2 separate regions of the Homo sapiens genome follow, and region 2 is linked to region 1. Evidence: promoter capture Hi-C in human tissues and cell types (Jung and others, 2019). All regions are on one chromosome and are shown on one strand. Each heading gives the region's core, a stretch centred on a gene start or on the middle of the fragment in contact. The rest is flanking DNA. Distances are from core to core; before and after follow the strand shown. Region 1 holds the start of SERPINB13 (serpin family B member 13). Region 2 overlaps SERPINB11 (serpin family B member 11).

Evidence for each region. Contacts are between HindIII fragments. The study calls those that stand out against the background at their distance.
Region 2: a fragment that was not itself captured here is called in contact with the fragment with the promoter of SERPINB13 in region 1 in 2 of the 25 tissues and cell types used here (H1 embryonic stem cells and spleen).

Annotation. Positions count from the first base shown.
Region 1 is chr18:63,584,313-63,590,345 of GRCh38, forward strand. SERPINB13 (serpin family B member 13) reads left to right here and starts at 3,031. Exons shown (of 8, transcript NM_012397.4): 1 at 3,031-3,138; 2 at 4,339-4,520; 3 at 5,344-5,403. The coding sequence starts at 4,356. RefSeq lists an enhancer at 4,317-5,516. The HindIII fragment of the contact is 3,313 bases long and covers 375-3,687 here.
Region 2 is chr18:63,719,853-63,725,481 of GRCh38, forward strand. SERPINB11 (serpin family B member 11) reads left to right here. Exons shown (of 8, transcript NM_001370475.1): 6 at 161-303; 7 at 979-1,134; 8 at 3,143-4,041. The coding sequence ends at 3,547. LOC124904318 (a long non-coding RNA gene) reads right to left here. Exons shown (of 3, transcript XR_007066401.1): 3 at 5,058-5,133. Among named protein-coding and RNA genes, the nearest start is that of SERPINB11, 20 kb to the left of the region's middle. The HindIII fragment of the contact is 6,033 bases long and covers 1,220-5,629 here.

The sequences.
Region 1 (6,033 bases), core at 1,781-4,280:
TCAGGGTCTCTGGTTCAATTTTGAGTGGAAGCAGCGGCGGTGAACATGCTTGTTTTGTTTTTCATCACAAAGAGAAAACTGGTTCTCTCTCTCCTTTGTCTCTCTCCCCGTGATTTCTTTCTATTAACTATTGAAGGACATGTAAGATGATCATACCGCTTGCTCATTATGTAAAGATGAAAAATTTTCCCATTTAACATATTAATTCTAAAGAGTCCCGATCTAAACCCCAAAAGTGTTTTTCATAGGTCTTGATAAACTAATTAAAAATTTTATCTAAAGAGAATATATGCAAGGTTGCAAATAAATTTTTGGAAAGCAAAAATAATGAGGGCTTGGGCTAGATATCACAACACTTTTGTCATAGGTGAGGCACCCTAGAAGCAGAGCTAAAGACAGGGATTTTTCAGGTAATTTTTGGGAAAAGCGTGATGGGGAGCATGCTTGTTTGAAAGAAGCAGAACAAGGCAAGGGGAAATGTTAATCATGTGGTTTCTGCTAAAGACTGGCTTCAGTCTAATCTTGTGGGGGAGGTCTGGAGGAGAAGTGGCACTATAAAGTTAGTCTTACTCAGGCAGCTGTCTTTTTTTTTCTTTTTCTTTTTTTTTTTTTTTTGAGGTGGAGTTTCGCTCTTGCTGCCCAGGCTGGAGTGCAATGGCGTGATCTCAGCTCACTCCAAACCCCACCTCCTGGGTTCCAGCGATTCTCTTGCCCCACCCTCCTGAGTAACTGGGATTACAGACATGTGCCACCACGCCCGGCTAATTTTTGTATTTTCAGTAGAGACAGGGTTTCACCATGTTGGTCAGGCTGGTCTTGAACTCTTGACCTTAGGTGATCCACCCGCCTTGCCTCCTTAAGTGCTGGGATTACAAACGTGAGCCACCGCGCCCAGCCAGGGGCTGTCTTTTTATGCCCTTATGCCAGTGAGTCATGCCTGAGGTGTGCCCTGGCACGGGGGATGGAGTGGTACCTGGCTTCCCCCGTAGGCAGCTCTCTTTTAGCCGAGAAAAGGGCATCTGTGAATTATAAGGGAAAACAACAACTGGGTAACAGGCATGCTGGTAGGTTAAGGAAATCTGGTGGGAACATCGGCAGCATCCACTACGAGATTACATGCTTGGAGAAGAAAAATATTACAAGTCAGTATCAGTAACAGACACACAGAAGTTGGAACAAAACTATGAGCTATGGAACAGGGTTGGGAACCTATCAATACTCTGCTTCAGGGGATAACTTTCTTCTCCTCACTTGTTAGCATAGAAATCATTTTTTAAATGGTTCTTAATCATCAACATATATTCCACCTCTGGGGCAGTTTTGATCCTAGAAAGAAGAGATGGATAAAACAGAACAGGGAGGAGTCCTGTGATAAGAGGTTGGGAAGGCGTTGAAAATTAGGTTTAGAGAGAATAAGGATGAGAATCTGTCACCAGATGGAGGTGCTTGAGTGTTAAACAAGAGCAGTTCCTGGTGTGAGTGGGCCACTATAAAAGAGGGAAGGTGAAGGTCCGAGAAGTGAGAGGCGCTGGCAACAGGAATGGTGAAGTGGTACAGGGTGGCGGTAGCAGCTGGGGTGGACAGGAAGACCATATGCAGAGTCACGGAGGGACCTGTGGTTGGGGACAGAGCAGCACAGCGTGATGGTCTAAGTTTCCAAAGGGGAGCATTGAAGGTGACTGAAGGAAGAAAGACTTGGAAGAAGAGGGAGTGCGAGGGAGAATAGGAATGGTGACTTTGCTTTCCCAAGATATGAGTGGCCGTTCCCAGAAAAGACTATGGGATGTAGTAGTCCTCAGGACATGCCAGGTTTCCCGGTGAAAGCAGGTGGTAGAGCAAAAGCTTTAGCAAAAAGCAGAAGGCCTGTGGAAATGGCTGGGCAATAGAACAGGAAGTCTAGGGGCCACAGAGAAAGAAATAAGAAGATATAAATGGATAGGGATATTAAAACATAAAGCATTATGGCCGACTCAGAGATTTTATGCCATTTTAAAAAACTAACATTTCCATTTCACTGGCATCCAGGGTTCACTAAGTGTTAATTCTTTCTAAACCTTACTCAATTTGCAAGATTCTCAGTGCCTATTAAAAAGCAAATCAACTAAATGTGGCTTTGAGTTTGCTTAAAGAGCAGCAATCAAAATATTTTGAAAAAAGTAAATTGTGAGTATGGAGATTGGAACACACATGACCCATATGCCCTTCGAGCCTGCGTATCTAGGGAGGTGTTCCTCTAGGCAGAAGGAAGAGCTAAGACACCCTTCTAGGAGCTGCTGCCCAGCAACGATGGCAAATCTCCACGCCCTTTACTGAAGATTAAAGCTAAGACTAATCCAAGCACAGTTTCTTTTAATGAACTGGTAGGGCCAGTAGAAATGCTCCAGGGTTGGCAGGAAAAACTGGAATCTGGGGGTGTAATTTCCTATTGAGTTTTTTTGGTAGTGTTGTTTTCCTGAAATCAGTGAGGATATTGAGTGCTTATGAATTATTGGCATTAGACACAGTACCTGGTACATAATAGACTTGATAAATGTTTATTGAATGAATTAAAATGAGATATTTTACAATTAATGGATGGAATACTTGAGAATAATAGGTGTGTGTGTGTATGTGTGTGTGCGTGTGTGTGTGTGCGCATGCTCGCTTGTGTGTGGCTGCCTACCCAAACTTTTCTTGTTCTTTTTTCTTGTTCCTTTGTAGCAAGATAGTTTTCTTTCATTTTCTTCCTGGCATTTGGCACTCCTAAATAATGCAAATGCAAAAATAACTCTGTTACAGAGAATGACTTGTCAGGACACAGCTCTGTCCATCTGTGGTAAGTAAAGTATGCATTTAATGTATGTGTTCATCAGGCTATACACCTTTGGTTCCCAGCGTTGGCTGTACATTGTAATCACCTGCGGTGATAAAAATTCTGATGCCTGGTTTCCACTCGAGAGATGCTGACTCAGTTGGTCTGGGGTGGGGCTTGGGCATAGATTTTTTTTAAAGTTCCAAGGAGATTTTAAGGTGCACGCAAGGTGGAAAACCACTGCTGAAGCAGATGTGGAGAACTATAAATTAAGGATCCCAGCTACTTAATTGACTTATGCTTCCTAGTTCGTTGCCCAGCCACCACCGTCTCTCCAAAAACCCGAGGTAAGTTCTTATTTTGGCTCCAATTTAAGACCTCTGTATTTTGAGAACAATGATGTTTGTTGTTTGAAAGAATTACTTTTATTTTGCATAGACTTTCTGGAGGTAGTTTTATTTAATTCAGTTCCAACATGGCCATGACAATGTATCTTCTTTGACAGTAAATTAATCCATTTTATTTCTGAGTTAACCTGTAAAGGATCTCTGCAAGGAAACCTGAGGTTGAAATGAAAGCTTTGATATCAGATGTGGGATGCCTTAGCGGGGATGAGCCCTTGAGGGCAAAAGGCCCCAAAGTATGTGGGCTTTAAAAAACTTTATTTTTCATTAATCTTATTCTTGTTTTAGGATTCCTCCTAAAGCCTTTACTTACTAGTTTTAAAGTAGTTGGTAATGAAGCAAACATAAAAACAGTTCTACCTATTTATTTTTGGCAAATATTAATTGCTCTTTAAAAACTATTTTTGTGAAATGACAAAAGTAATGCAAGCTCATGTACAAGCCTAAAACAATACAGAAAAGTATAAAAAAGAAAACCCTTTCATCTCCACCTAATAATTCATGACCAGAGATATGTGGTTTCTGCTTCAGAAAAATTCAGCCCAGAGTCAAGTTTGTATGCAGTTAGGGAAAGGGGTTTAAGAGATTTAATCAATCCTGTCACTCTCTGGGCTGAATTTTGAATCAATTGAGAAATAGTATCAGATAAGGATTCAAGTCTCGGCTTAATTATTGCTAAGGTTGGATCTGAGAGCACTGTTTGAACTTGAGGCCCGTGGAGATTCTTGTGCCTACCCCCCTGCCTTATCATGGGCCCCACATCTGGACAAACTGGTGTCGCCTGGACAAGGGCTGGGTCTACCTGGGGAAGCTTCCATGAAGAGGAGGCTGTGGAGAGGCAGAGACAGGCAGGGTCAGACAGAGAGCAAGAGAATAAAGCCATTAAAACATTAACCCTGCTCCGCGGGGAAATAAGAACTGAGCACCACCGGATGACGGAAGACTCCAGTAGATTGATGGATGTCTCCCAGCAAGAGAAGGCCAAGAGAGGACGTGAGAAGCAGGCAGCAGCGACCTTTCACCAAAAGGGTGGAAATCCCTGTATTCCGGATCGATGCAAGAAGAGGAATAGAAGCAGAAAGGATTCCCCTGACACAGAGTAATTCAAATGTTCAGTTTTGATTGTTGTTCTTGCTATTCTAGGTCTCGCTAAAATCATCATGGATTCACTTGGCGCCGTCAGCACTCGACTTGGGTTTGATCTTTTCAAAGAGCTGAAGAAAACAAATGATGGCAACATCTTCTTTTCCCCTGTGGGCATCTTGACTGCAATTGGCATGGTCCTCCTGGGGACCCGAGGAGCCACCGCTTCCCAGTTGGAGGAGGTTGGGCGCAGTCAGGGGGCTTCCTTGTTTCCTATGCACAAATTCATTTGGCGGGGGGGTTGTCAGCCCTCTTGCATTATCTTAAAAATACGCTCTTCTTGACCTGTGGACCAGGAAACAGAGACTTTCAAGACAAGGAGCAATTTCAGGTCTATCAGGAAAGCCCTCTTCCTTTTCCAAATACCATCTCGCCACCTGCTCCCAGATGCTTGAAATTTTTTTGAGTAGAGACTGGTTGCGTAACCTTGTCCAAGTACTTATGGAAAAAGTGACATAATCCCCACAAGGGTAAAAATGACACATCCAAGATGAACACAGGAACACATAAGCCAATACGAGTTCCTTAGAAAAAAATTAGAGGTATTTTTAGTAAAGAAGGGGATTCACCATGTTGGCCAGGCTAGTCTTGAACTCCTGACCTCAGGTGATCCACACGCCTTGGCCTCCCAAAGTGCTGGGATTACAGGCATGAGCTTAGCTGGGTGTGGTGGCAGGTGCTTATAATCCCAGCTACTCGGAAGGCTGAGGCAGAAGAATCGCTTGAATCCAGGAACAGAGGTTTCAGTGAGCCAAGATCATGCCACTTCACTCCAACCTGGCCAAAAGAGCAAAACTCCATCACACACACACACACACACACACACACACACACACACACGAAAAATCAGAGGTAAACGCAGACCTTTTTCTGATTTTGCAAGGAGATAATGTCACCTCATATACCACCGAGGTTTCTTTCAGAAGCGTCCACTCTCCCCTGACTGATTCTGTGTGAGGTTTTCTCTTCTCTGAGCACCACAGTAATATTTTCTATCTCTTCCAGGTGTTTCACTCTGAAAAAGAGACGAAGAGCTCAAGAATAAAGGCTGAAGAAAAAGAGGTGGTAAGAATAAAGGCTGAAGGAAAAGAGGTGGGGAGATGTGTTTTACAAACTTCAGTAGAGTTGCATTTTAGGTGTGGGGTCTCTGGGGAAAAGGACTGAGAAAGGCATGAAAGCAATATTGTTGCTTTACTATTAAGCAATAATAATCACCATAGACAAATATTGTTGTAAGGATTATACAATAATAATAACCCCTTAATATTGAGAAGAGACCTTAGGTGTAATGGACAATACCGCTATGATAGAACTGGTAAAGGCTAATAGACAGAAAAGTTCCCATAGCAGAGTGGATGGGTTTTGGAGTTAAACAGACTTAGGTCCAAGTCCTGGCTCAGTCACTTAAGAGCGATGCTACTTTGGGCAAGTTATTTATCTTCTTTCAGCCTCTGTAAAGTCCGCAGTAGGGGCATCTGGCAACTGAGCCAGTGGTGGTGGTGGTAGTAGCAGTAGGTGATATTATTGCTAAACTCCACTCATATTTTTAACCCCGTGCTGATGTTGTATTTAAAAAATTATTACAGGCCCAATGACTTCCTGAGGTCTTTTCCAGCTCCAGTGTTCCTGTATTCGCCATCCAAAGGAGAGTCTACTCAAATATGGGAAAGGAATAAGCCCATTAGGTCGGGGCTA
Region 2 (5,629 bases), core at 2,986-5,485, 140 kb after region 1:
CAAAGAAGGCTCCATGGCCAGGAGATGAAAGGAGTTCTTCTGGTATCTCAAATTTACAATTAGTCTTAAAAAAGAAATGGCTCTAAATTTCTCATGACTCTTCACCTCTCTATTATCAGGAGTTCAAATCCAAATATAATTATCTTATTTTTTATACAAGGAAAAGTCGCAAATCTCTTTGGAAAGAGCACAATTGACCCTTCATCTGTAATGGTCCTGGTGAATGCCATATATTTCAAAGGACAATGGCAAAATAAATTTCAAGTAAGAGAGACAGTTAAAAGTCCTTTTCAGCTAAGTGAGGTAAGTATTTTATTTTCAGACTCATGACAAATGTTGGAGGATACAATAATCATTTAAGGACAATTTAGAAAGATGTAGTGATTTAGTGAAAATATTGGTCTAGGTTTCTGTTGGTTCTTTTTATTGTATTTTCTACAGATTTTCATTTTTCCTTTATTAAGTGACAATAACTTTTATCACAGAGCACCTAACTGGAGACTTGGGATACTAAGATTCTCTGGCAGAGGAGAAAACCCATTCTTTTCTTAATGCTCTCTTGGCTTATTCTTTCCATATATACTGTGGTTATGTTCTCCAGCAGCACACTAAGGCTATCTGTGTTATTTTTTTTTCTAGAGAGTTTCTTGAGGAAAGATTAAAAAGAAAATGATTTAATGATATATCCTTTTTCTTCCCACTAAAATCATGTTAGCTAAAAATCCTGACTTTGTTTTTGGTAGACCAAGCTATCTCTATATATTATTAGAACAATTCAGTCTCTAACCATGACTTATTTTAAATTAAAAAAATGGATAACCTTTGCAAAGGGAAGTAATAAGGAATCTACTTTGTAGTTTCTATTTTACCCATGCCTTTAGAGTGTTCATGCAGATATCCGTGTTATGCAAGGTAATCAGTACACACACATGTGCACTCACATATGTAAGTATACTATAATCTTTTTCTTCTTAACAGGGTAAAAATGTAACTGTGGAAATGATGTATCAAATTGGAACATTTAAACTGGCCTTTGTAAAGGAGCCGCAGATGCAAGTTCTTGAGCTGCCCTACGTTAACAACAAATTAAGCATGATTATTCTGCTTCCAGTAGGCATAGCTAATCTGAAACAGGTAAAATTATAAGAATGCTATAATGCAGTTAAAGCATGTGTGCATGTTAACACACACACACACAGACACACTGTGTATCTCATGACATTAGCGTAGTCATTGATTCACAATCTAAGCCTTAGTAGGATTGTCCCGGGGGTGTGAAAGTAGCAGGGAGACACATGGCCTCTGCCTTTCAGGACAGTGTGTTTATGGAGAACAAGCTATTCTTACATGAGAAAGGCACATGGAAGCAGAAGTGATATTTTGTACAAATACACACAAGTACTGGTTGGTTGATAGTCGGGGGACATCTTTCTATAGTAATGAAGTTATAATGCTATTTGGGCTCCTAGTGTGCAGAAATCTGATTAAGCCATTTTACTCTGGGGGCAGTATTTCTGAGCCAATTGTACTTTCACAGGCTAACCATTTTTAACATCTCAGTTTTGTGGAGAAATGGGCACCACACACATTAAGAAGTGGTCATGGCCGTGAAAGGAGTTTGGATCCAACCCCCTTTCCCCAGCTGCAGCCAAAGCTGCCCAGCATAGAGCAGGCTGTGCTTCTAACAGCTGGACGTCTGGAAGCCTGCAGAAGCTGACACACATATGGGTGATATAGCCTAACAGTTAGGGGCTTCTAAGCCAGGGAGTGCTGGCTTGAGATGAAAACACTGTGGCACAGGTGAGCAAGGTGTGTGTGTGTGTTGGGTGGTAGGGAAGGAACACTGTGGCACAGGTGAGCAAAGTGTGTGTGTGTCGGGTGGTAGGGAAGGCTTCTTGAAAGAGCAGGGTCAGGACGTACGCATTTGGATTAAGAAGTGAGACGGGTGCCAACTGAAAAGGAGCTGTAGTCACAGAAGTGCAGCGGTGGCCATAACAGGTATGCTTACGGTTGTGGTTAAGTCAGAGGGAATCAGGTCCCTAAGGGCCTGTGGTTGACTGGAGTGAAAGACATTTGGAGGCATAATGCAGTTTGGGAGCAGTTTAGATTCTGCAGAAAGTTTTCTGGAAGTAGACTATGGGATTAGAATGAATGGGTCAGAAAGGAATTCCTAGTACAGCAATTTCAGTCCGAGCCTTGCTGGATGAATAGGAGAATCACAGGGGCCCTGCTAAACTGAGCAGAGCAAAGAGCAGTGCAAATGCCTTAGAAGCAAGGCAGCATGAGCTGTGGCATGAAGTCATAGTCTCTTGGATGTGGGCAGAAAATGACAAAAGGAAAAGATACTTTGGAAGAAAAACCACCTTTGCTTTTTGGTGGCTTTTATATTGTCATGGTAGGCAGTAGTTGTCAAAACTGTTTTAAATTCTCAGATTAAAAAGATGGGATGTGACACAGCATGGTGGTTTGCAGCTGTGGACAGGGCTGGCTGGAGAGTTCAATGCCCGAGGGAGGCGTTTGAAAGGTTTACAAACAAATGATGAAACTGGATGGAGAATGAGAAGTCAGTGTGCTGAGGCTGCTTTGGGAAAGCTGAGCATTGATGTGGGAGCTGACATGCTGGGCAGAGGCACAGGTGGCCCAGAGTTCAGCTTCAGGAGCAGCTACCAGAAACAGTGACAGAGAAGGGCACGAGAGGATGAAAGCTATCAGAGTGCATGGGGATCCTGGCATCAGGGATGCCAAACAAGAATCACGCTCATAAAGGAGGGTATCATGAAATGTTTCAGATATGAGAACCCAGAAGAAATGGTTGAGTCCATCCACGAAACAGGACCATGACAACTTCACAGGCGAGAGTGGGAGAAGTGCAGTGAAGCATGTATGCTGAGGGAATTGAGGGAAAAGACTGTAGGATACCTACTTGAGAAGCTTAATTATGAAATTTAGATGAGAAACAGACAACAGAAAAGGGAAAATGTGGCTAATGGTATGATTTTGTTCCCAGGTAAGTAGACTGTATTAAAGGTAGAAAAAGTGATGAAGTTGAACCACTCACACTGAGAATTATAAAAACATATGATATTTAATGTAGAGGTCGTGTGTTTGACTCATGTGGGCTTGTCTGTGTTTTGTCTCTTAGATAGAAAAGCAGCTGAATTCGGGGACGTTTCATGAGTGGACAAGCTCTTCTAACATGATGGAAAGAGAAGTTGAAGTACACCTCCCCCGATTCAAACTTGAAACTAAGTATGAGCTAAATTCCCTGTTAAAATCTCTAGGGGTGACAGATCTCTTCAACCAGGTCAAAGCTGATCTTTCTGGAATGTCACCAACCAAGGGCCTATATTTATCAAAAGCCATCCACAAGTCATACCTGGATGTCAGCGAAGAGGGCACGGAGGCAGCAGCAGCCACTGGGGACAGCATCGCTGTAAAAAGCCTACCAATGAGAGCTCAGTTCAAGGCGAACCACCCCTTCCTTTTCTTTATAAGGCACACTCATACCAACACGATCCTATTCTGTGGCAAGCTTGCCTCTCCCTAATCAGATGGGGTTGAGCAAGGCTCAGAGTTGCAGATGAGGTGCAGAGACAATCCTGTGACTTTCCCACGGCCAAAAAGCTGTTCACACCTCACACACCTCTGTGCCTCAGTTTGCTCATCTGCAAAATAGGTCTAGGATTTCTTCCAACCATTTCATGAGTTGTGAAGCTAAGGCTTTGTTAATCATGGAAAAAGGTAGATTTATGCAGAAAGCCTTTCTGGCTTTCTTATCTGTGGTGTCTCATTTGAGTGCTGTCCAGTGACATGATCAAGTCAATGAGTAAAATTTTAAGGGATTAGATTTTCTTGACTTGTATGTATCTGTGAGATCTTGAATAAGTGACCTGACATCTCTGCTTAAAGAAAACCAGCTGAAGGGCTTCAACTTTGCTTGGATTTTTAAATATTTTCCTTGCATATGTAAATAGAATGTGGTGAGTTTTAGTTCAAAATTCTCTGTTGAGAATAATAAATGCATGAAATACCTTAAAGCTCTGTGAAGACTTGTAACATGGCAGCAATCAAATGGCTTATAAAAGGATACTTTGAATGTGGATAAATTGAATTCAGTCAATATTTCAGTGGAATTTTTGGCTAATTGCTTGAATTGAATTGAATTATACTACTCAATTGAATAATATTTTCTCCTCCTCCTTCTCCCCTTCCTTCTTCCTTCTCTTCCTCCTCCTCCTCTTCTTCTTCTTCTTCCCCTTCTCCTCCTCTTCCTCCTCCTCCCCCTTCTTCTACTTCCTTCTCTTCCTCCTCCTCCTCTTCTTCTTCTTCCTCTTCTCCTCCTCTTCCTCCTCCTCCCTCTTCCTCTTCTTCTTCTTCTTCTCCTCCTCCTTCTTCTTCTCCCCTTCCTCCTCCTCCTCCTCTGTCCTCTTCTTCTTCCTCTTCTTTTTCTTCTTCCTCTTCTCCCCAATCCTCCTCATCCTTCTGCTCCTCCTTCTCTCCCTCCTTCTCCTACCCATCTTATTCTTCAGCAAGTAAAGGTTCAAAACAGAAAAAGGCATAAGTCAATCAGAAGATTTTTGTTTTAAAGGAAGCCTCCTTTTATACTCAGGATAACATGGAGCAGTAATCAGATAAGAGTGGCTATTAAACATTTACTGCCTTCTCAGTGCCTTCTTTGTGAATATTTTCTCCTGGAACTTCCTCAGAAGTCTGAGTAGAGCAGGAGTCCCCCACTTCTACCTTCCCTAGCCCCATCTTAGAAGAGGTGGCTGGAGGTCAGCCATTGCTTCCCTCCTAGGTGACAGGGCAACATTCTTTTAGGATAGACAGCGGTGGCAGCTAATGAAATCTTTTCCTTTCTCCTTGGGGCATTGAAGAATGTGGCTTACTTTAATCTTCAATAAAAATATTATAAAATTGCAAGCAAGCAACAATCTCAGCAAAGTGTAAGACTGAAGAGTACCTACTTATAATAGCATGCAACTTCCTTGCTGCACTGAATGGCTGTCTTGTTGCACGTGGTTGTCCCAGTGATTGTCTACCAGGCCCATTCGTCACATGGCATAAAGACAAGAAGCTGTCTTGGCCAACATCACAGGATAACCCAAGACTCCACAGGCACAGTGGGTTTAACTGTGGTAACATGGAGAGACATGAAGCAACAATGATGGGTGTAGGAAAAGTAAGAATGGTTTTTGATATCTACTTTTCACCCTAAACATCTTGAGGATGTCACCTGGAAGTGTGGGGGTCCTCCGTTTCTGTCTTTTTTGAGAGAAAGAATTTGGCCAAGAGACAATTTAGCTAAGAGACCAGAGAGTTTATTGAATGAGAGTACACGCTAAGAGAGATGTGGGTTGTCCTGACTGGAAAACAGCCCATATAGTCCTGTGTTGTGGTTTTTATTATGTCAGACTTTTTCTTAAAGTTCCCACTATATGTATGTTCACCATTGTCAATTATAAAACATATATATATATCTTTATATAATCTATATCTATATATCTTCATATATCTCTCTATCTATCTATCTATCTATCTATCTATCTATCTATCTATCTCCATATATTAGGGGTGGGGAGAGGCAGAGAGAGAGAGAGAGAGTTTAATTAAAGGAAATGGCTCATGC